3 separate regions of the Homo sapiens genome follow, and regions 1 and 2 are each linked to region 3. The links are contacts of gene promoters, found by promoter capture Hi-C in human tissues and cell types (Jung and others, 2019). All regions are on one chromosome and are shown on one strand. The core of a region is centred on a gene start or on the middle of the fragment in contact, and the rest is flanking DNA. Distances in the headings are between cores, read along the strand shown.

The links. Contacts are between HindIII fragments. The study calls those that stand out against the background at their distance.
Region 1: a contact is called between a fragment that was not itself captured here and the fragment with the promoter of SCEL in region 3, in 2 of the 25 tissues and cell types used here (lymphoblastoid cells and thymus).
Region 2: a fragment that was not itself captured here is called in contact with the fragment with the promoter of SCEL in region 3 in 3 of the 25 tissues and cell types used here (lymphoblastoid cells, mesendoderm cells and stomach).

The regions. Positions count from the first base shown.
Region 1 is chr13:77,595,477-77,599,607 of GRCh38, forward strand. SCEL (sciellin) reads left to right here. Exons shown (of 33, transcript NM_144777.3): 13 at 2,069-2,113; 14 at 3,853-3,912. Among named protein-coding and RNA genes, the nearest start is that of SCEL-AS1, 9.0 kb to the right of the region's middle. The HindIII fragment of the contact is 3,038 bases long and covers 1-2,997 here.
Region 2 is chr13:77,488,895-77,492,993 of GRCh38, forward strand. No RefSeq gene overlaps it. Among named protein-coding and RNA genes, the nearest start is that of SCEL, 45 kb to the right of the region's middle. The HindIII fragment of the contact is 6,349 bases long and covers 1-4,099 here.
Region 3 is chr13:77,533,206-77,537,501 of GRCh38, forward strand. SCEL (sciellin) reads left to right here and starts at 2,501. Exons shown (of 33, transcript NM_144777.3): 1 at 2,501-2,619. The HindIII fragment of the contact is 8,761 bases long and covers 1-4,296 here.

The sequences.
Region 1 (4,131 bases), core at 229-2,728, 61 kb after region 3:
ATCCATTTTATTTAATTTGCCACAGAGTGTCTTCTCATGATTTATGCTAATTTTCTTGGGATAAAGCAACTCCAAATCCTGATAATCTCATCATTGTGACTCATGCCAGTCAGGAAAGCCTGGGGCTAAAATTTATAGGACTCGTGGGTTTGCTCTTTCCCTTGGGGACATGAACAGATTGTTAGTCTCAGAGTTAGTGGGTAGAATATCAAGCAAGAAACAGTAATGGGTTACTGTGTCAAGGGACTGGGTAGTGTTTGTCACACACAAGGATAGAGCATTAATTTTTTTGTTGTTGTTAGAGGCAGCAACTTTTGTATTTCAGTATTTATTCTCAGGCAACAATTCTACCATTGATACCTAAAACTACTTGACAGGATTCACCTATGTACTGGCTGTTAATTTAGGGTCTCTAAGAGGACTACCCTCAGCAGCTATTCTTGCTATAGTGTCATCGTGCCAGGCATCTTCAAGCACATAAGTGACTTAGCAATTGCATCTCTCTCTAAAGGCTAAGTCGAAGTCTTGGTGTTTCTAAGTGCAATTAAAAAATAAGTATAGCAAGCATTTACTAGGTTGGGCGTGGTGGCTCACACCTGTAATCCCAGCACTTTGGGAGGCTGAGGTGGGCAGATCACCTGAGGTAAGGAGTTCAAGACCAGCTTGGCAAACATGGTGAAACCCCATCTCTACTAAAACTACAAAAATTAGCTGGGCATGGTGGTGCACACCTTTAGTCCCAGCTACTTGGGAGGCTGAGGCAGGAGAATTGCTTGAACCTGGGAGGCGGAGGTTGCAGTGAGCCAAGATCATGCCATTGAACTCCAGTTTGGGCAACAAGAGTGAAACTCTGTCTTAAAAAAAAAAAAGTATAGCAAGCATTTATTAAACAAAAAATTTAGTAATGACAGGGCATTATTTATTATAATGGCCCAAATTAATCAGGAATTTATGACTTGTTAGGCATTGTGCTAAATACTTTATATTCATGAGCTTATGAATCTTTTCTGAGGTGGGTATGATTAGTATTCTCATTTTACAAATGGGAAAATTAAGTCCACAGAAGGTTAGGTAACTCACCCAGATTCACCAATGAATAAGTGATGAGTCCTGGATCGTACTCCATGTGTCCTTAACAAGGAAACTTGAATGCGTAACTACTGATTTGTGAACAGAAAAACTTGCTGAGGAAGGCAAGAGAGGTGGGGCAAGGTGTGTGTGTGTGTGTGTGTGTGTGTGTGTGTGTGGTCGGGGGTAGGTCATGAATAGAAAAGTTGGAGAAAGGACATGCTGTGACAGGGAACTAGAGGAAGAAACCAATAGCACTGTGGTGAAACCCCCACCCCACCTCACCTAGGCTGCCTGCTTAGGGGAGAAAGTTGAACCCATGTGGTTTAAATAGAATTCCTGAACCTAAGTATTTAAATAGGTTGCTCCTGAAGCAGCAGCCAGAAAAGGCTTTGCAGTTGTCAAATGTGGAAACAGGCTAGCAAATTTAGCTGACCTGGAAATGAAGTAGCAGAGCTCAAGAAGGAAGCCAGACTTACTGATGAACAAATGTTTTCTAGAAGCTACGTGTGCAAGTACATTGCACAATGCTGTAATTAATCAGTGTACCTATGTGTGGACTCAATTAAAAGTGGGTATTAAGTATCTACTGTATGAACACTGTATTAAAACACAGAAGTGTGTCTGATGTAAAATACAGTTCTAAATTTTAAGTGGTGTGCATATGTGTGCCTGTGCTGAGGTAGGAGCATTAACATGAGACCAGTGTGCAATGGCTATAACTCAAAGTATAGTCACAGAACTGTCATAAAGCAGGTGCAGAAAAAACAAATGCTGCAAGGGCTCCAAAAATGTAGAGGACTCTATTCAGTTAGAGGACTAGGAAAGGCTTTCTGGAGAAAGTGGTGTTGGATGCGAGCTTTGAGGATCATCAGGATTTTCGCAGATGATAAAAGTGGGATGTGTTGTATTTCAGAGAACTGTCATTTTAAGGCAAATTTACCCTTTGACCCTGGGCAAGCTTTTTACTAATGTTAAACATTTTTTTCTCTTCCCAAAGTGAAGAATTGGATAATCTCATCAAAATGAACAAAAGCTTGAATAGGTAAGATTTTTAAATGTTTATCTTTTATTACTGAGTTGCATATTGTGACTTTTTATGCCTTTCCAGTCTTTGAGCGTGAGGACCCACATACCAGGGTAGTCAAAAATATCCTACAAATCTTGAATAAAAGCTTGCAGCAATCATCATCATTTCATTGTTATGATGAATGGTTATTAAAGTCTGAAGATACTAATATGAAAGTGTTCTTGATTTTCATACGCCATTTGTTTATTAAGGCAGTTATATAAATAACCACTTTTCTCTTCCTGAAATATTAATTAACTAAAATGTAAACAGAATTTGGTTTGATCATGGAATAATTTTAGTTTAACCATTACAAAAAACATTTTATTATCATAGTTAATGTTATATTGTTTATTATTATTTTTTGAGACAGAGTCTTACTCTCTTACCCAGGCTGGAGTGCAGTGGTGCAATCATAACTCACTGCAGCCTTGACCTCCTGGCCGCTAGCCATCCTCTTGCCTCAGCCTCCCAAGTAGCTGGGACTACAGGCCTGTGCCACCACGTGTGGCTAATTTTTAATTTTTTGTAGAGATGGGGTCTCACTATGTTGCCCAGGCTGTATCTTCTTGTTTTGAATCATTTATAATTGTATAACTTGAAATATGCCAAGAGAGAAAAATGAATAATCAAGGCTTGTGTTTGTGGTAAGTATAATGTAAGCAAGCTCTCTATTACTTTGCATACTAACCCACTAAACAGTGATCAAAGAGAAGGAGAAAACAGGGAAATGCCAAATGAATTCATTGATCAGAGGATCCCGAGATGTGTTTTTCCTATCCTGTTCTGGCAATAATGATCACTTAATCTGCTGCTCTTCAGTTTCCTCATTTACAAGGAGAGGAGGTTTTAGATCAGGAGTCACAGACTCCACGGCCCGCTGAGACCAGGCAGGTGTGAGTGGGTGAGGAGACTGACTGTGATAACTGCGGCCAAAAGGAGAGCAAATGCCCTGTCTGAGCACACAGCTGCTTCTCAGCTCAGCTCCAGCTGAGGGTCTCCACTGAGTCTAGTGTTGCAGGACAGCAGGGCATTCTCAGGAGATCCTGAAAATCCAGTTTTGTTGTTTGTTTGTTCATTCGTTTTAGAGACAGGGTCTCGCTCTGTCGCCCAGGCTGGAGTGCAGTGATACAATCATAGCTCACTGCAGCCTCCATTTCCTGGACTCAAGCAATCTTCCCACCTCAACCTCCCAAGTAGCTGGGACTACAGGCACCACCACCATGCCTGGCTAAGTTTTAATTTTTTTGTAGAGATGGGGTCAGACCATGTTGCCCAGGTTGGTCTCGGGCTCCTGGGATCAGGTGATCCTTCCACCTTGGCCTCCCAAAGTACTGGGATTACAGGCATAAGCCACTACACCTAGCCTGAAAATTCAGGTTTCTGTGTGTCCTGACCATCATTGTAACATGGGCTCACTTTAAAGCCCACGCTTGAAAGCTAAAAGGGTAGAAATGCTCCATGAATCCAAGTAACACCTCTATAGACCTATTGTGGTTGACAGATCCCCAGTTTATATCTTTTATTTTGTTTTCTCTAAGGCCCACTGCAATTTAAAATTTGAGTCTATGAATATACCTATTTCAAGAATTGTAGCTCATCTTCCCCAACAAGCTTCTGTTTCCTGTCTTAGATGTAAACTGGTCTATGTTCTTATAGAGTTAAGCATTGGTCATTATCACTGATGAGGCTTTTTTAAATCAATACATTTAAAGGAATCAAGGTCTTGATAGTCTCTTCAGAGCAAATCCAAAGGTAGAAGAAAGAGAGAAAAGGTAAGTGCATCTGTCTCAAATATGAAAATCTTACCTTGCAGATTGCTCGTCTTATTCCCTCAGACATTAGCTGCAAGGGGGTTGTATCCTCTGGCATGGAAATGTACTGGCAGATGGGGTAGTGCTCTCAGCATTGTACATTTAGTTCAGACATAATTACCCAGAAGGATTTCTGCTCTTCCATTCAATAAGAGTAAATGAGCAATTCATGGAGAATGT
Region 2 (4,099 bases), core at 1,164-3,663, 44 kb before region 3:
ATTCTTCTGCATATGGATATCCAGTTTTCCAAGTACCACTTATTGAAGAGATTGTCCTTTCCCCAATATATACATTCTTGGCACCTCTGTCAAAAACTAGTTCACTGTAGATGTATAGATTTATTTATGGATTCTCTATTCTGTTTCATTAGTCTATGTGTCTGTTTTTATGCCAGTATCATGATGTATTGATTACTATAGCTCTGTAGTGTAATTTGTGAAGTCAGGTAATGTGATTCCTTTCATTTTGTTGTTTTTTCTCAGGATAGCTTTGGTTATTCTGGGTCTTTTGTGGTTCTATGTAAATGGTTAGGATTTTTTTTTTCTGTTTCTGTGAAGAATGTCATCGATATTCTGATGGAGATGACATTCAATCTGTAGATTGCTTTGGGTGGTATAAACATTTTAACAATATTAATTCTTCCAATCCATGAATATGGAATAGCTTTCCATTTTTTTGTATCCTCTTCAGTTTTTTGCATCAGTGTTCGCTATTTCTCATTTTATTTTATAATCTGGGATATTAGTTCATTTATTAAGTGCACACGTATGTATCTGTGTGTTTACTGCTCTGCGGAAATACAAACTAGTATAAAACATACAAACTAGTATAAAACATGATCCTCTAGTTAGGGAGAATAGGCATAAATATATGAAAAGTTGAATATTTTACCAAGATGAGGCCTCACAAAATATTATATATATCTCAATTATCTTTTCAAGTAATAGCTTTCACTTTTTGAATTATCTTATCCACATAACTTACTTTTTAATTTCTGCAAGGGAAGGTTTTTACTTACGAGAAAAAACAAAGCTCGGAGAGATGAACTTGCCCAATGTCAAATAGAAAGTGAAGAAAGTGCACAAATTGAAACTGGGGCTGTCTGTATTCACAGACCTTATCATTTCTCATAAAGCCAGTATGATGGAGATTTACCAATTTCTTTTTTGCCATCCAGGTATCAGAACCCACTCTCTATGTTTGGGAAATGCTCTCCCTCTGATGCCATCCAGCTACTCACCTCTCCAGGGTTCTTGCTGTTAAGGCATGGGGCTGGGCTCTGCCAATCAGATCCATCTTCTCTCGAGACTATGAGAAACTGGGACACAAGGAAGCACACACCACCCAGAATATATTTGGACAACATTTGGGGGTGGAGGCGGCAACCATATTTGGTTCTCAAAGGCAGCAGTGGCAGTAGAGTTCCTGCAGCAGCACCCAGGGTCTGGTCACTGGCTGCTGGAAGGTGCTGTGCTGTCTGGGTCCAGCAGGAGTTCCAATGTCTTTACCTGATAAGTCTTGTGGTTTGACTGTGGGAATTGTTTCCAGCTGTAAAATCCATAAGTTTGCTTCTCTAGCCCTCCCAGAGAATATATGGGCTATCCAACATCTTTTAAATAGTTTCTGTTTCTGCTTTAATTAACCAGGGTCAGTTTCTATTATTTGCATCTAAAAGTCCTGACTGTGACTGAAAATTGTGCCAGAAGTTGTAGGCAACAGTTATTCAGGAAAACAGGAGGGAAACTGTACTTTATTCTCTGTCTTGGTAGGGTTTAAGGGGAATTGGAAATCAGGTTGATATTAAGAAACTGAACCTGAGCATCCATCGAAATTTGTGAAGAAAAAACAAAACAAAACAAAACAGTTAATCAAATGATCACTTGTGTCCACTCGGGTGATAGCCCCCTTGAATGCTAGGTTTGGGAGGAAAAATGTATGCTGCAAGAGAGTGGTTGAAGGGTGTGGAGGAATTCAAGGATTGTAGAGTTAAGCAATGGACACTTCAATGGCAGAAAATGACAAACTGAAAGTCTTCAACTCTCAGCTCAAGCCACCCACTGAAAACTAGTCTCTTTCTAAGATAGTGCTGAATTGGAACCCACACTCAAAGATTTATCCTCCAAGTTGCTTCTTTACATCAATGTATAACCTTTTCTAGCCTCTTAGATCAAAGTTGGGGCTCTGACATAGGGTATTAAGTAGGTGCCAACACAGGGTGGAGACGTGAGAGAAGTTGGGTTGCTCAGTGTGTAAATCTTCCCATGCCAGTGCACTGTCCTCCCCTGCAACCAAGGTAGGCATGTCCCAGAGCCTATTTTAAAGTCAAACTCCCCAAATTTACAAAATTTTGCTGCTATGTTTGCAAAAATCTGGCTGATGCACGTGGCAATAAATTCTGAGGATGTTGACTAAAGTGGGAGGACTGTGATTGAGATCAAGTACGATATGTCAATATATGTACCTGCACCTCATCTATATACAATCTAGGTGCGGGTACCTAGATTGTGACTAGGTTGAACACAATATTCAACTGGGGTTGATTGTAGTTACTTATTGTGGTCAACTGATGAAACTTGGACTCAGCGGTGGCCTAGATATTTGTGTTATACTATAAAGGAAGAAATGAAACAGATGTAGGAAAGTGGGAGGGAATTTTTTTGTGTGCCATCAATTTCTTAATTCTTAACTCTGGCTCCAAGGCCTTGTTGATGCATGCATTGAGAAATTCATTGGTGAAGAGAATTCCAGCATTAAAAAAATCCCTATAGAGGATGTTCTTTGTGGATCTAGAATGCAGTGAGAGGAGACACAGCTGAAATGAGCTCTCTGATTTCACTGGGATACTAGGATCCCAGAGTAGCAGAAGCCCCATAGCAGCACTTAAACATTGGACGCAAATGGGTCTGGGCAGATGTGGAGAAGGTGGAGGGGGAGTCAGTGTGTCGTCAAAATGGTCTAACCCTAGAAATCTTTGACATTTGCTAATCAGTCATTGGTGTCCTAGAAATAAATTATATGTACAACCCAGCAAGAGAATATTTGATTTCTAAAATAATACTAACACCAACCAAAACTCAAAGACTCTAGGTATGGCCATCAGGGACCTAAATTCAAACCACATAAGAAAGTGTTGGCCTTTTACCAATTTCCAAACTTAAATTTTCAGATACTAAAAGGATGCCTAGGTACTCTTGAAAAAGAACTCTGTGTTCATATCACATAAGCATATTTCTTCCAGCCTTCTGCAAAGGGACCTTCAGCTATTGGGATGACTGTGCATTGGGAAAGAGAAATGTCTAGACCTTTTAGGGGTAATACAACAGTTGCTCAGAGTTAAACTAGAATTAAGCTAGTTCCTGGGAATACCATTCATTCATCTGTTCATTCATTTGAACAATTTTTATTGATTGCCTACTGTGTGTCAGACACTGGGGACTGGTAATATTTTAGTGAACCAACCAACCAAAATTTTCTGCCTTAGTGGAGTGAAAATTTTAGAGGAAGAAAAATTAACAGGTGAAATATATGGTGTGTCAGGTAGTGATTTAATGTCCTGGCAAAAATAAATTAGGGGTGGGGTGAGGAGTGAGGAATTCTTCATTTCTCATGGAGCCAATTGGGATTAGAATAGAGGGAAATAGGGCTGGGATTCTTGTGGTGCCCAGTGTAGACATAGATTGAATAAATAATGTAGTAATACACAACACCAAATACATAAAGTAGTAAATGGAAAACAATTTTACTTGGCTGAAGGAACCAAAAATTTACCAGTAGGGACTTAAAAGATGCAAGGGTCGGCCAGGCGTGGTAGCTCACACCTGTAATCCCAGCACTTTGGGAGGCCGAGGCGGGCGGATCACGAGGTCAGGAGATCGAGACCATCCTGGCTAACACGGTGAAACCCTGTCTCTACTAAAAATACAAAAAATTAGCCAGGTGTGGTGGCGGGCGCCTGTAGTCCCAGCTACTCAGGAGGTTAGGCAGGAGAATGGTGTGAACACAGGAGACGGAGCTTGCAGTGAGCCAAGATCGTGCCACTGCACTCCAGCCTGGGCGACAGAGCGAGACTCCATCTCAAGAAACAAACAAACAAAAAAACAAAAACAAAAACAAAAGATGCAACGGTCTCCATTTAACTTCCCCATATGACTGATGCAGGAGGCAGATGCGTGTCAGAGAAAGAAGTATTTGTACTTCTAATATAGAAGCTTAAATCCTAATATAGGATTTAAACTAAGCATGCATTGTAGAGAAACTAGCTCATCATGGATGATCCGTAAATACTGCATTATATCCTTGAGTCCTCATCCCCATTGA
Region 3 (4,296 bases), core at 1,251-3,750:
GAGTGAAACTAATGCTCAGGCTATTTGGCTACCTCCACACCCGAAAACGTTCTTGATTCAACCTCTTCACATTTGAGATTTTAAATTTTAGGCAGTCATGTCTGCTCAGCATGAAGAGGTCTGAATTTTGCTCAATGGTTTAGAATTAGTCCCTTTTTATACTAGAGATTTGATTCTAAATGAAAAAACACTGGTTTGGCTTAGCAGTGTGGATGGTCTGATGTATAAAGTAAGAGAAACCCTTAATTGCATGCAGAAATAATTGCTTGGAAGCTCAAAATCCATAACTTGAGTAGCTGCACTTTACTTCATTATAAGATAAAAACTTATCTTTCTGGTTCTGTGTTTCATGAAGTAATATATTTCAACATTCTGTAATGTAAATTACAACTTATCCCTACAAGGGAGCTCTTAAACTGTTTTCTTTCTTTTTGGCTAAGTTCTAAGGCTGAAGATTGCTTCTAGTTTATCTTTTGAGTTAAGTCACGTCTTTGTTTTTCAGCTTTATCATTTGTAATATTAATATTCAAACCAAGATTTTTGGGCATCACAGAAACTTAAAGCATATTTTAAAAATATTTTGCATGTATAAAATTCCATAAAAAAGCTGAGTAGACACGTATATATGTTTTACTTTGAAAGAACATTTTCCATTTTAGATTTTCAAATTCCTCAGCCCAGAATAAGGGAACATCAGGGAACATACAGGAAGTGGTCTCCCAGTCACAATGACCACATACTGCAATTGCCTTGCTCTTCAGTCTGGGTTTCTGCTTCTTGTTACAGTCATTTCAGTGGGCGTCACTCAGCTGCATTGTAGTTTTCAGGAGCAGTTGTTCAGGGGGGATTTGGTTCATTGCTGGTGTGACATATGAATGACGATCACCCAGGAAGTTCTGATGACGTGGCTTCTCTCAACAATGTTTGCTAAGCTTCTTTAAAGCCTCTTTGGCTCTTAGGGAAGGTGTGTTTCAAAACCTGTAACAGGAGTCCCCGCCTAGAATGGCTCTTCAGTGTTACTCCTTCCTCCCAGCGGAAGCAGCCTTTGTTTTTTGTTGGGTTTTTTTTGTTTTTTTTGTCTGTTTGTTTTGTTTTTTGAGATAGGGTCTCACTCTGTCACCCATACTGGAATGCGGTGGTGTGATCACAGCTCACTGTGGCTTGGTCCTCCCATGCTCAAGAGACTCTCTTTGCCTCAGCCTCCTGAGTAACTGGGACCAAAGACATGCACTACCACACCCAGCTGATTTTTTTATTTTTAGTAGAGATGAGATCTTCTCTTACTGTGTTGCCCAGTTTGTCTCGAACTTCTTGGCTCAAGTGATCCTCCCACCTTGGCCTCCCAAAGTGCAAGTGAAAGCCACTGCAACTGGCCAGAAGCAGCCTTTGATGTTGGGTCTACTGCTGCCCTCAGCATTGAAAGAAGTTTCAACCATCCTTTTCACATTTTTTTTTTTTTTCTGAGACAGTCTCACTCTGTTGCCTAGGCTAGAGTGCAGTGGTGTGATCTTGGCTCACTGTAACCTCCACTTCCCTGGTTCAAGTGATTCTCCTGCCTCCTCCTGCCAGAGTGGATGAATGGTTCTTCTTCTTCTTGACCATCTAATCATTGTCCACTCAGACTTTAAAACTCTGCATCAACATCACCTTCCAGGTTCTTCCTTCTCTCCACTATGCGATGCCTGGCATTGAAAATTTCTGTATATGACTTTATCATGGTGTGTTATAGTTATTTAATATAGCTGGGGTTACAGGTGTGTGCCATCACGCCCAGCTAATTTTTATATTTTTAGTAGAGATCAGGTTTTACCATGTTGGCCAGGCTGATCTTGAACTGCTGACCTCAGGTGATCCGCCTGCTTCCACCGCCCAAAGTCCTGGGATTACAGATGTGAGCCACCACGCCTGGCCCCTTTTCACATTTTTTTATACATGGATAAATAAGATAGAGATTAGAATTCTTACATGCTAGGTGTATTTTCCCTCTGATAGTTTTACAAAATAGTCTAGGTGTAGAATGTGTGGAACAGACTTCTTTTGTGTTTTCTAATCCTAGGGTTCCTGGGTTTCTGAGAATTTGTTTGTCTTGAAGATTCCTTTAAGCCATATACTCCTTGCATGCTTGTCTGTGCCCCTGCCTTCCAGGTACTATGGGTGTATGGGGGTTCCTTCTATCTTGAGTTTTCAATTTTATTTTTTGAAAGAGAATACAAAATAGGTTGGGTCCTATGCCACCTTGTCAGTGATATGGTTGTGCATACTGTTGATATCAGTTAAAAGGGTGATCACAGGAGCATATATATATATATGTTTTTTTTTTTTTTGCATAAGGCCATAAGTTAAACAAAGAATTCAAACAAAGACAGTAGGTATATGAGTGAGAATGCTTTAATTGAACTGGTATTTGTACAAGGTGACACCCTGTTGCATACCACACACCTCCTCCCTGAGTGACTCAGCCGCTGAGCAAGAAACCTCTGAACTGTTCACTAATACAGTCAGGTAGAGGTTGAGACTCCACTGAATAAACTCTAGGTTCCCATTTCTTTCAGCCAGATCCTCCCAGGGAATCACTACAGGCTGGTTAGCCAAAAAGTCCTGATTTTCTGCTCAATAGAGGTAAGTTGAATTATACTTGCAAACAGAAATACATCTGCTGTATGTGCACAGCTTTCTCTGTGTTCCTTACAAATGATTAAAATTAGAACTTACTGTATTATCTTTGTCTTTTCTTCCTGTAAATTTTGACAGCCTCCAGCTGGCTGTTAGCTCTGCTCTTCCTTGCTGTACTTTTAGGTCACATTGCATTGAACTTCTTGGCAATTTTACACGTTATGGGCATCACAGAAACGAGCACCTATTTGATTTTCTGGGTGGGAGCTGTCAGCTGGTGAATCCTGCCACACAAAGGATAATAAATTCTTTAAGTGAAGGGACCAGCACCTGCTGGTTTATTTTCTCAAGCGACTATACAAACATTTTTTAAAGGATCTTTCTGTTTTCATAAATGATGCTTTTAGTGAAATAGTGAACTCAAATATTGCTTTATAGTTAATAAGTCATATTTATTTTTTTCTCTACTGCTAAAAATATTGCAAGTTGCTGAGCTATGAGAGAGAGAGAGGTTTATATTTATGAGGTTTTTGTCTCCACCCTATCTTCCCCAAATAAGAAAATCACCATTTCTCACTTGAAAGTACCAAGGAGTAAAGGCAGGGTGTGGGAGCAGAATAAGGGTACATGGTTCCTCACAGGGATCTGTGGGCATCTGGCCAACTTCTCTATGGTATATTCTGCATTCTAACCTAAGGAGTGATTAATGTATATGGGGGCAATTTTCAAACTTTATTCATAGCCTAGTCCTGAAAAACCAGTTTTGGGAGACTTTTGATAAGGCTAGAAGAGTTCTTTTAACAGAGCTTTCTTTTATAATTAATAGCTAAGCTGACTTGTGTTTTTTCTCATCATTTCTATTTATGATACAGAGCTGTGGGATTCAAATGCAGGGGCCACTCACAGCTTGCAAATTGCAGCTCTGTGTCCTCCAGAGAGGTGCCCCCACAGCATACCTGGCTCTATCTGTAGTACTTGAGTTCTCATGGCTTCCTATTGCTGACAAGGTCACCTGCAGTCTGAGAGGGGGTTAGACACACCAGTGCTCATTTCCCAAAGGTTTACAGAAGAATTTTACAACTTGGCTTTCAAGTGTTTATAGTAACCAGAAAACTAAAGTGTAGCAAGTGTGGATAATTTTATTTTTCATAAAATGTGATTACATTTAAAACTGTCTTTCACTTCCATAGTTTATAACGTAGATAAAGCCTTCCTAATATATGTGGTGCTCCAGTGTTTAAAGTATTGGAAACATCAATTTGAGAAAACTGAGAAATGACAACAGTAAAAATTTTAGTAAAACATTCAGATGATCCTAAATGTCGGGATATGCATAGAATGCCAACAACAGGCCAGAATTTTTATTGGAATGTTAGCGTCGTATAAATCTTAGATCTAATTGACAGAATATTTCAACTGAAACGGAGCATAGGCCCATCTAGTCTAATGCCTGAATTTTCTAGTTGAGAAAATCAAAGCATAAATGTTAAGCAACTTGTGAAGATCAGAGTAGCAGAACCAGAGCACGATGCCAGATTGCTTGTCTTTTGTCTTACTGAATTTTCTCAATATTTTTTCAAATGCTTTTTATCATAAAATATGTAGTAGCAATAAATGAGCCACACTCCATCACAGACTGTGGTTACCCAGCACATGTGGAAATATTATAGTGTGTATGGTATG